2 separate regions of the Homo sapiens genome follow, and region 2 is linked to region 1. The links are contacts of gene promoters, found by promoter capture Hi-C in blood cells and fetal thymus (Javierre and others, 2016). All regions are on one chromosome and are shown on one strand. The core of a region is centred on a gene start or on the middle of the fragment in contact, and the rest is flanking DNA. Distances in the headings are between cores, read along the strand shown.

What was found. Contacts are between HindIII fragments. The CHiCAGO score rates a contact against its expected background, and 5 or more counts as called.
Region 2: a contact is called between a fragment that was not itself captured here and the fragment with the promoter of ELF4 in region 1, in 3 of 17 cell types (naive CD8 T cells, naive B cells and monocytes). The highest score is 5.9, in naive CD8 T cells.

What each region holds. Positions count from the first base shown.
Region 1 is chrX:130,107,681-130,112,900 of GRCh38, forward strand. It overlaps ELF4 (E74 like ETS transcription factor 4), which reads right to left and starts at 2,817. Exons shown (of 9, transcript NM_001421.4): 1 at 2,645-2,817. It also overlaps a transcript of RAB33A not described here. RefSeq lists silencers at 2,699-2,768, 2,849-2,998, 3,249-3,298, 3,309-3,358, 3,429-3,548. The HindIII fragment of the contact is 7,600 bases long and covers 732-5,220 here.
Region 2 is chrX:130,897,471-130,902,690 of GRCh38, forward strand. ENOX2 (ecto-NOX disulfide-thiol exchanger 2) reads right to left here. Exons shown (of 15, transcript NM_006375.4): 2 at 4,214-4,261. Among named protein-coding and RNA genes, the nearest start is that of ENOX2, 3.1 kb to the right of the region's middle. RefSeq lists an enhancer at 5,105-5,220. The HindIII fragment of the contact is 3,898 bases long and covers 278-4,175 here.

The DNA of each region.
Region 1 (5,220 bases), core at 1,567-4,066:
ATCTGAGTTTTAGGCGCTGCATTAGGCAATATCGTAAGGGCAGCTAGCACTTACTGTGTGCCATGTGCTGTTCTAATAAGCATCTTATATGTATTCATTCATGTATTTGATCCTCACCAAAGTGTTATAAAGTGGTCTCATGTGACAGATAAGGAAACTGGGGCATACAATTGACTGGGATCACATAGCTAGTAAATAACAATGCTGGGATTTCAACCTAGACAGCCAGGCTTTAAGAACTGGAGGTAGCTGGGCACAGTGGCTCACGCCTATAATCCAGCACTTTGGGAGGCGGAGGCGGGTGGATCACCTGAGGTCAGGAGTTCGAGGCCAGCCTGACCAACACGGAGAAACCCCGTCTCTACCAAAAATACAAAATTAGCCGGGCGTGGTGGTACATGCCTGTAATCCCAGCTACTCGGGAGGCTGAGGCAGGAGAATCACTTGAACCTGGGAGGCGGAGGTTGCGGCGAGCCAAGATCGTGCCATTGCACTCCAGCCTGGGCAACAAGAGTGAAACTCCATCTCAAAAAAAAAAAAAGAACTGGAGGTAAGGAGTTCAAGATTACAGTGAGCTGTGACTGTGCCACTGCACTCCAGCCTGGGTGACAAAGTGAGACCCTGAATTAAAAAACAAAAACCAAAAAAAAAACAACACTCTAAACGCAAAAACAAAAACTGGATGTAAAATTACATTGCGGGGGTAGGGGATGTGGAAAGGAAGAAGGCCAAGCTTAAGAGCAGAAGAGCAGAGGTTTCCCCAGGAAAGCAAACTCCTCAGCCTGTGTCTAGCTGGGTCTGTGCGGCACAGGGCCTGATTTTTGCAAGATGAGGGGCATTTTGGACATGCTATCACTCAGGCCCCTAGAGACAGACCACAGCACCCTCTATTTTAGATCCCAATATATGCCAGAGAAGACAGAAGCCACTGTGTCACCACTTAGCACTAGGTGAGGGAGAGTGAATTTTGGGCCCCTAGGTTGTCCAGGGGTGGGCGCCAGTTCCTGAGCAACCACCGAGCAAACAGTGCAGCACAGGGAGGAATGCCAGACATAGTTGCAAACAAGCCACTCCTTCGGCTCACAGCAAGAGGCTGGGTGAGGGTGGTAGCATGGAGCCTGCTTCATGGTCCCCCCCACCCCTGCCCCCAACAAGAGATCCCAGGCTCTGAATCCAGCCCCAAAAACAACCAGATGCAAGGTAGCCTCTTCCTCACACCAGCTGGCTGGGATAGGAAGTCCTCCCTGATAATCTTCACTGAACTCCAGAGAGCTCCCCCTACGCTGCTCCTGTACTGGATGCACTGAATCTGAATTAATGGTTGAGAAAGCACTTTATAACCAGGAAAACCCAGTGTAACTAACTGCAAGGAAGGACTGGCATTCTTGCTGGGCATATGTGTTCCCCGGGCATTTTCAGTGCCAAAGTCTCCCCAAAGGGAAGAGCTAGAACTGTTCCCTTCACCCACCTCCAACCTGGCACTCGGGCCAGGGGTCAGCTGGCAGGGGGTGAGTCCCCAATGGGCGTGCCCACCAGCTGTTGGGGCTGAGCAGTGGTGGTTCAGGCCCTGGGGTGGTGACCTCACTTCCGCTCCTACCTCCCCACCTCCCCAGCACTCCTCCCATTTGAGGCCCCACCAGGCCAAAATCGAGAAGTCCAAGGTTAACTGTTCTTTCCCACTTTAAGAGCTAATTAAAATAATTAGCCACAATGAACTGTCAAACATTAACCAGAAGAGGCTGCAGGACCAGACAGGCCTCTATCACAGGCCGAGGGATGAGGGGCAGGAATCAAATGGCCATCAAATCCCTCAGCTGGGGTATGGTGCGGGGCGGGGGCGGCCCAGGAGGACCTCGCTGAGCCGAGGTGCCAAGGGGTCAGGAGGTGACTCTGGTCAGGAAGGTGATGTGCAGGCATACGGTGGTGAGAAAAGGGAGTCAGGGTTAGGGTGCGGTGGAGGAGCCAGGAATTCATAAAGCGGTCACCGCCTCAGCAGTCCCTCAAGCCTCCAAAGCAAGGCGCTGGCGTGAGGGGACCCCGCACGGTGCGGCTGCTGAATCCCCTAGGCGGCGGCCCAGGAGGGAACCCGGAGGCGGGAGAGTCGGGGAGAGCGGGAACGCGGGAGCGGGAAGGCTGGCGGCTGGCTCACACGGAAACTCCGGCCCCTGCCAAGAGGTCTCTATTTTGGCGATCCAGTTCTCCACATCATAGGTCTGCGTGCGCGTGTGTGCGTGTGACCCTAAAGCCCTGGCCCCAGAAGCCCCGGGGGCAGTCGGATCCATCTAGCAGCTCCGCCGCGGTCCGCCCCACCTCCTCTGCCCTCGGGCGCCCAGCTTCTGGGGGCCCGCTGTCATGATCGGCCCCGTCACGGAACCCAGGCTGCCGGGGGCGAGGGAAAACAGGGGCCCCTACCCCGACTCCCCGACTCGGGGAATCCATTCCACTTCCATCCCGGGATCGGGAGCCCGGGTTCTCCATCACACGCGCGGCGGGGCGACTCCAGGGCGGCTCGCGACACTCCGCGACTCTCCCGCCCTTCCCTGGGCCCCCAGCCCCACGCCGGGGCCCCGGCGCTCTCGATTCCGCCCTCAAGCAAACTTTTCCACGTCCCCCAAGGCTCGAAGAACCGGCGCCATCGACGTACCTGAGGCCGAGTGGCTCACGGGCCCAGCTCGGTCGCCGGGCCGGGGTCTGTCTCCGTGGTCCCCGCTCCGGGGGCCGAGACGCGGGTCCCCAGCCCCGCCAGCCCGTCCTCTCCCCTCGGAAGCCGGGCCGGGCGAGCGGCGCCAGGAACTCGGCGCCGGCGAAAGGAGAAGTGGAAGTTGAGCGCGGCGCCCGGTCGGTCCCCGCGGCCGCCGGGGCCGCCGTCCCCCGCCCTCCTCCCCGCCCGCCCTTCTTCCCCGCCCGCCTGCCCCCGCCACCCCGCGCCCGTGACTCACCTCGGCGCCGGGGCAGGCTGGTCCGGGCGGGCGAGGCGCAGGGCTCTCCCACACTTCGCGCCGCCAATGGCAAGTTGGAGGGAGAGATGCAAATACCAGGTGAGACGGCGGCGCCCCTGATAAAACGGGGCGGGGGGCGGGGTGGAGCGCGCGGGGAGCGGGGCGGACGCCGGGGAGGGCCGGGCCAAGACACGGGGCGGCAGGGGCGCCCGGGGAGGGGGCGCGAACCGGCGCAGACATGCACCGAAACGAGCGAGCGAAAGGGGAAATGCAGTAGAGACACACACGTCCCCGCAGGCGGCGGATGGGGCGGGCGCGAAGGAGGCAGGGCGGGAGGGAGGGAAGAGCCGGAGGGAGGGACCGACGGGAGGGACTGCGGGCGGGCGGGGTGGGGGAGGGAACGAGGGAGGGACGAGGCATCTCGGTGGAAACAGCGCCCGTCCGCCCCGGCCCGCCCGCCGCGGTCGCCAGCACGGCATGGGGAGCCGTGCCAGGGGCCCGCGCGGCCTCTCATTCCCCTCGCGGCTCGCTCGCGCCCGGGGGACCACGAGGCAGGGCGCCCGCAGAGCCCGCGTCGTGCGCCGCGGCCCGGGCGGGCGCTCCCCACTCTGCTTCTAGCCAGCGAGACTCCGAGCTCTCTGCTCGTTCCGCGCCCTTCCCGGTGCGAAGCCCCCATACAACGCCCCGCAGAGAAATCCCTTCCCCGCGGACTCGGGAAGGTTTCGTCCAGCCCCCTCGGCCCGTGCAAGTGGAGACTTGCTTGACGCCTTTGGGCCAAGCCCTGCGCTCCACATTATTGAGCTCCTGGGGTGTGCAGGCCCCAGCGGGAGGGCGGGCCGTGCGGCGGGTGAGGCCGCGAGATGCCCAGAGGATACAATTTTGGAACCATATGCCCGACTCCGCAGAATCCTGGGCGTAACACCTGGGGTGACTGGAGAGTTTCGGCGACTTCTTAGGGAAGTCGAGTCTAGGACTCCTGCGGGAAGTTGGGGTGGGGGACGCTGGCAAGATATGAGTCAGGGGAAGGGCTAGGGGGAGAGGGGCTGGCCCAGCAAGTGCAAAGAGAGCCAGAGTTCGGGTGCTGGAAGAAAGCCCATGCCTACCTTTCTTCCCCTGTCCAAAGCCAGGCTGCTCTGCTCCACGCGCCCACTTGAAAGCCACTCAGGCACGCTCCCCTTCTATCTCCCCTTTGCCCTCTCTGACCTGCCTCAACATCAATACCGCCGCCTACGTGGGTCTGCTGATAGGAGGCTCTGGAGAGAGTGCGCTGGGAATTGTTACTCTGTATAGTTCCACGTGGCCTTTTTGGGGGTGGGGGCAGCAAGGCCTAAGCCTTGGCAGAAAGCATCAAGACTGAAGGAGCCCCAGGGGATGGGGCCTTCTAAAGGGCTTGAGGTTGAAGGACCTACTCAGCCTCCAGCATCGGCCTGCTTCTCCTGCCTTGGGAAAGGATCATCTCAGGCGCAGGACTGGGGGACAGGAGTGGTGGTGGATGATGGCCACAAAGGCAGCTGCAGATTACAAGTTCCCAAGGAAAGATCCTGTGGCTGGACTGGGGCGCCGGCCCCTGAGACCTCCTGGATACTCAGAATCAAGTCCCCAAAACAAGCACTTTGTCTTTTCCAAGCGGGCATGCTTTTCCCAGGGGATTCCAGATCCTGGAGACACACAGTTCTCTGCTGGCCTCTCATCCACGAGGTCCCCTCTCAAATTTGGGGTAGGTTCCGGATGTCCCTAAGCCCTCTTTACCTTGACTTTGAAATTCACGAATGGACAGACACGTCTGCACACGCGTGCACACACACACACTTTCCCATTTTGCTAAGAGCTCAGTGGTCTGTAACCTCAGACAGACCTGGGTTCCTATTCCAGCTCACTATTTACCAGCTGTGTGACTTCAGGCAAGTCACTTAAACTCTCTGAGCCTCACTTTTCTTCTTTAAAACAGAACAAAAACAAAAACTAGGCTGGGTGTGGTGACTCATGCCTGTAATCCCAGCACTTTGGGATGCCGAGCGGGGTGGATCACTTGAGGTCAGGAGTTCAAGACCAGCCTGGCCAACATGGTGAAACCCCATCTCTACTAAAAATACAAAAATTAGCCGGTGTGGTGGTGCATGCCTGTAGTTCCAGCTACTCGGGAGGCTGAGGCAGGAGAGTCACTTGAACCTGGGAGGCAGAGGTTGCAGTGAGCCGAGATCGTGCCACTGCACTCCAGCCTGGATGACACAGTGAGACTCCATCTCAAAAAAATAAATAAATTAAATAAATTAATTTTTTT
Region 2 (5,220 bases), core at 977-3,476, 790 kb after region 1:
TTATTATGATAACTTTTCTTCTCGCTTTGATGTATTTAGTTTTCCTCATCTGTAAAATAGGAATAACTATTTTATGTGTTTAATATTTTTGCTCTGAGAATTAAATACCAGTAGATTGCCTGGCATAAAATAGCTAATCCATACAGTCCACATCAACATTGGCTAACATTAATTAAATACCTATTATGTGCCTGCCACTGGCCAAAGACCCCCCAAAAAAGTAAATCACAGAAGGAAAACCTAATACTAGAGGAGCAAGCAGGGAGCTGATTTTCAAAGCTTTTATCAGGCAGTCTAAGAAGTCTGGATATTACTCTGAAGACAATGGACAGCCTTTGAACTATTTTATATAGAGACCAGATGGTTTTAGATTTGTGATTTACAAAAATCATTCTGTCAGCATTGGTAAAGAGTAGACTAGAAGGGAAGCAGGCTGGAAGCAGCAGTAATCCAGGCTAGAAGTGATGCATGTGTGTTGGGGGGTGGAAGGTATGCCCCAAAGTAAGACAATGGTGGACACCGGGAAAACATTTTAAAATAACTTTTTTTTTTTTTGAGACAGAGTCTCACTCTGTCTCCCAGGCTGGAGTGTAGTGGTGCAATCTTGGCTCACTGCAACCTCCGCCTCCTGGGTTGAAGCAATTCTCCTGCCTCAGCCTCCCGAGTAGCTGGGATTACAGGCGCATGCCATCACGCCCGGCTAATTTTTGTATTTTTAGTAGAGACGGGGTTTCCCCATGGTGGCCAGCCTGGTCTCAAACTCCTGACCTCAGGTGATCCGCCTGCCTTGGCCTCCCAAAGTGCTGGGATTACAGGTGTTAAGCCACTGTGCCTGGTCAAAATAACTTTTTAAAAATTAACAAATATACTGTAGATTAGAAAATAAAAATACGCAAAAGGTTAAAAGTAGAAGTCATATGCAATCTTACTACTTGCAGCAAACCCCTATTAATATTTTTTTGTGTGTTTACCATTACAGGATTTTTCCTATGTATGCCTACACAGATGTGTGTGTGCGTGTGCGTGTGTGTGTGCGTGTGTGTGTGTGTATTATGTATATGTTTTTAAACTGGGATCTGTCACTCTGTACTGAGAGTTCTATGATGTGAATTTTCTCTTAATATATCAAAAACAATTTTCCACATCATTAAATATTGTTTGGTAAAATCAACTTACAAGGCTACTTAGTAATCCATTCTATAAATGTACCACAATTGATTTCATTCAAATCCCTAGTATTGTACATTTAAGATGTTCTTTTTTTTCTTTTTTTTTTTTTTGTTGTTTTTGCTATTAGTATAAACAACTCTGGGATAGATGTCCTGAGTATTAAATTTTTGGAAACATCATGATTGTTTCCTCAGCATAGAGCTCTAGAAGTTGAAGTGGTAGGTTAAAAGCTGTATTCTATTAAGGTTTCTGATACATATTGACGAATTGCTCTCCAGAAGAGCTGTATCAAATTATAGTCCCAGCAGCAGAGTCTATGAGTAGGAGATGAACTTGAGAGTGATGTCAAGGACGGAGTGTACTGGACTTGGGTGGGTAGAAGGAAGGATGTTTCCTGGCAAAGTATCAGGGCAGGAGGAAGATGAACTCTGTCAAGAGCAGCAAAGTAATGGGCAGGGCTAAGGAATAGGTGCCTGGATAGGTAAATGATAGGAAAGAAAAAGGTAAGATAACCAGGGGAGAGTGAAGAAAAGAGGGAAAAAGTAGGTCTTTCATGAAATTATGGGCACTTTAATTTACTCCTTTCTTCAGCAAAAGTAGCAAATGTAGCAAACAGCTAGTCTTTTCATAGCATTTGGCACTCTGTGCTACCAAGGTCCCCAGTTATATTCATGCAAATCTGTTTATCAATTCTTTTCACCCAATAACCATTTATTAGGTGACTACCATGTGTCAAGTGCTCTTCTGGATGCTATGGGTATGGAGATGAATGAAACCTGGTCCCTGCCCTCAAGGAGTTCACAGTCTAGTGGGGAACACAGAGACATCCACAGACCGACACCCTACAGTGTGGTACAGGCTAGGACGGAGGTAACTAAGTGCAGGGTCCTGTGGAAGCCCGAGGCCTAACATTGCCTTGTGCGTGCATTCATGTATGTTGGGCAAGGGCTGTCGGGAAGGCTTCACAGAGGTGTTGACATATGAGCTGAGTCTTAAAGGCTGAGGAATTTCTTGCATGCCTAAGGGTCACAGATCATGGTCATATTCCTAATCAGTGCCTTGAATATTTGTGCTACTGCTCTCAAGGACACTGAGTAAGGTGGGAAGGATGTTTGTGTGTAATCCAAATCCACTCGAGTGGTAACTATAGCTTCCATTGTAATCTTAATGAACATAGAAACATAGCATGTTTTGGCAATATTATTGCTCACCATACAATATAAAGGACAAGAGGCAAGGGGGGCATGCAGACTTTTAAAACAATTCTGGTAACACTGACAAAATAATATTAACATCCACCAAGTCCTAATAATTTTACCTCCTAAATGTTTCTCAAATCTCTTCGCTCCGCTCACGTCACTACTCTTGGGTCTTTATTGTCTCTCTGTGGAACAGAGTAGCAGCCTCATCATATCCACCTCCACTGTATCCTTCCCACTGTCATTTTCCTTACAGTAAAAATCTGATCGTGGTGCTCTTCTAAAACATGTTAATGGTTTCTTATGGCCTACAAGCAGCACTTCCCAAATTTCAGTCTGAGTATTACTTAGTGATTTTTACCATATTCACACACAATGTGTACTATTACTACTTAATATTTGTCTTTAAATGAACTGAAAACTGGTTCACTTTCTATTTTTATGAAGTAAAATCCAAAGTAATCTTAGATGTGATGGCTTAGTTCAGTTTTATGTTTTTTAAGACATATTTGAACATGTAACTAGTAAAATTAAAATGTTTGTGGGAGCACAGTGTAACTACCACTGGCAGATGCCCTACGTTTTGAGAACCACTGACCTATGGGGGCACATTCCAACTTAGGATTGCAATCAAGGTTCTTTGCAAATCAGCCCCAACCTCTTTCCAGACTCTTCTCCTACCCATTACAGTTTCCTTTTACTCAACTATCTGCACTCCAACCATGCTGAATTCTTCCACATTGAATGAACATGCCCTACTCTTATACAGCCACACATCTTTCACAGACTGACTCCTCTATCTGAAATGCCTCCCCTCCACTCCTTCCCTGCCTGGGGCAAACTCACTATCCTTCAAGACCTATCTCATGTCACCTCCTCATGGAAGCCTTCTCCCCGAGTCTCCCTTACAGTGAGTCACACCTTCCTTTATCCCTCCATAGCATTTTGTACCTGTCTCTGTTATACTACACACTACAGTATCTCAGAACTGTGGGCATCCAGCTCCCCAGCTAGACCCCAGGAAGAGTTCACACCTTGTACTTCATTGTTTCTCCAACACTTCACGTGGGCAGAGGTCATGAAAGAGATCTAGTGTCCCAGGTAACTTCTTAAAATGCTAAAATAAAATACATCCAAAGTGCTATCAAGGTCCAAATAGCTTAGAGGTATGATATGTGTTATAAAGAGAATCATCTAATTCAGAAATAGCCGTACTGACTATGGTTTTGGCAGACACAATTAGCTACAGTTGCAATGACAGTTAATTTGGTTTTGGCAGCTACTTTACAGCAAATACATTCTGACATAGAAATTTTAAGTGAATCATTTGGGTTTTGGCCAGGATGATGAACTATACCTATCTCTCCTTACCACAACTGGAAAGTCAAGAACAAGAAAGAACATTGGGAGCAGCAAACCATGTTGAACAGAGCATGGGCTTTGGAGTCAGAAATCTGTACACCCAAACCTCAACTCAACTTATAATCTATGTGACTTTAAGTAGATTGTTTAACTTCTGTGCATTTTAGTGTTTTCTTCTAGAAAAAGAAACAGGAATAATAGTACCTACTTCATAACACTCAAGATAATGCAACAAAGTATTTATGATGATGACTAGGACATTATGTGGGTTCAATAAATAGCAGTCATTATTGTCACCCAATGAGATGACTACAGTTCAGATAATGTGATGCACGGGGACAGCAAATGCATTTCTTAAGAAAATATATCGATGTCTCTAGGCTTTAAAGTTGACAGCTATAGACTGTAGCTAAGAATAGCTACAAACAAAACATCTGCAAGACAAGCTTCTTCTTGGATTTAAACTCACACCTGGAACATACCATCACACTTCTTTGTGTTCTCCAAGAATTGATCTCAAATCAGGTTCCCTAGGATGAAAAGAAAAATCATCCAATCTTAATTTTTGCCTTCAATTTTATTTGATACAGAATAATATCCAAACTATGTGTATGTTTCAAAGTATCATGTTATTATGACCCCAAGCTTCTCCACCCTATTTATTTCCCAGTATATTTGTGCTGATATCTTTTATTCCAATCAGGCAAGCCCACCTGTCTCACAGTGCTCCCTCTTCTGTTTACCCTTCTCAAAGTCCAATCTCAGTAGCAGGAAGCATTTTCTCCCTCCTCTTTGACAACTTCAAATCCCCTGTACTCTGCTGGAGCCCAGATTAAAATTCACCTCCTTCACAAAGCCTGAAAGCCGGATGAGGGCTTCAGCACTTCCCGGGTTAGGCTTGAACTTCCATAGATGAACTCACCACCCCCATCAGTATGCTCTTCCACTGACCCCTCTTAGCGTTTTTTGCACACGTTTGTAATAATACAATGATTAATATGGTCTGTTTCACACGGTCTACTTTATTCTGTAGAATAAAGGTGTGCCCCCTAAATGTTTGTCAACATTAGTGCTATCAGTCTTTGCTGGAAACCCCTAAAGCGCTGGATTTTTATAACCAGTCTAACTTGCCTTTTACTCTCACCAGAACCCTGCACTGAACCTTAAACACACATTTCTCAAAAGCAAGATTCCTTCCCTCTTTTGCTTCCCATCCCTTCTAGAAATTGAGGGGAAACTCTCCCCACTTCAAAGACCTGGTGGGGGAAGTGGCAGGTGGCTGAGGGGCCAGTAAAGAGATGGCGATCAATTAAGGAGGCAAAAAGAGAAAGTTTGAAAAAAAAAAGTCACGCCCTGAGCGTGGCAAGGAATTCCCATGCCCCAAAGAAAATGGGGAGTGTAGCGCAGGGAGGGTTATGTGCCCAAACCTGAAATACAAATTGAGGGAAAAGAGGAAAGAGATCACCCAATTCCTGCGGTAAGAATTAGA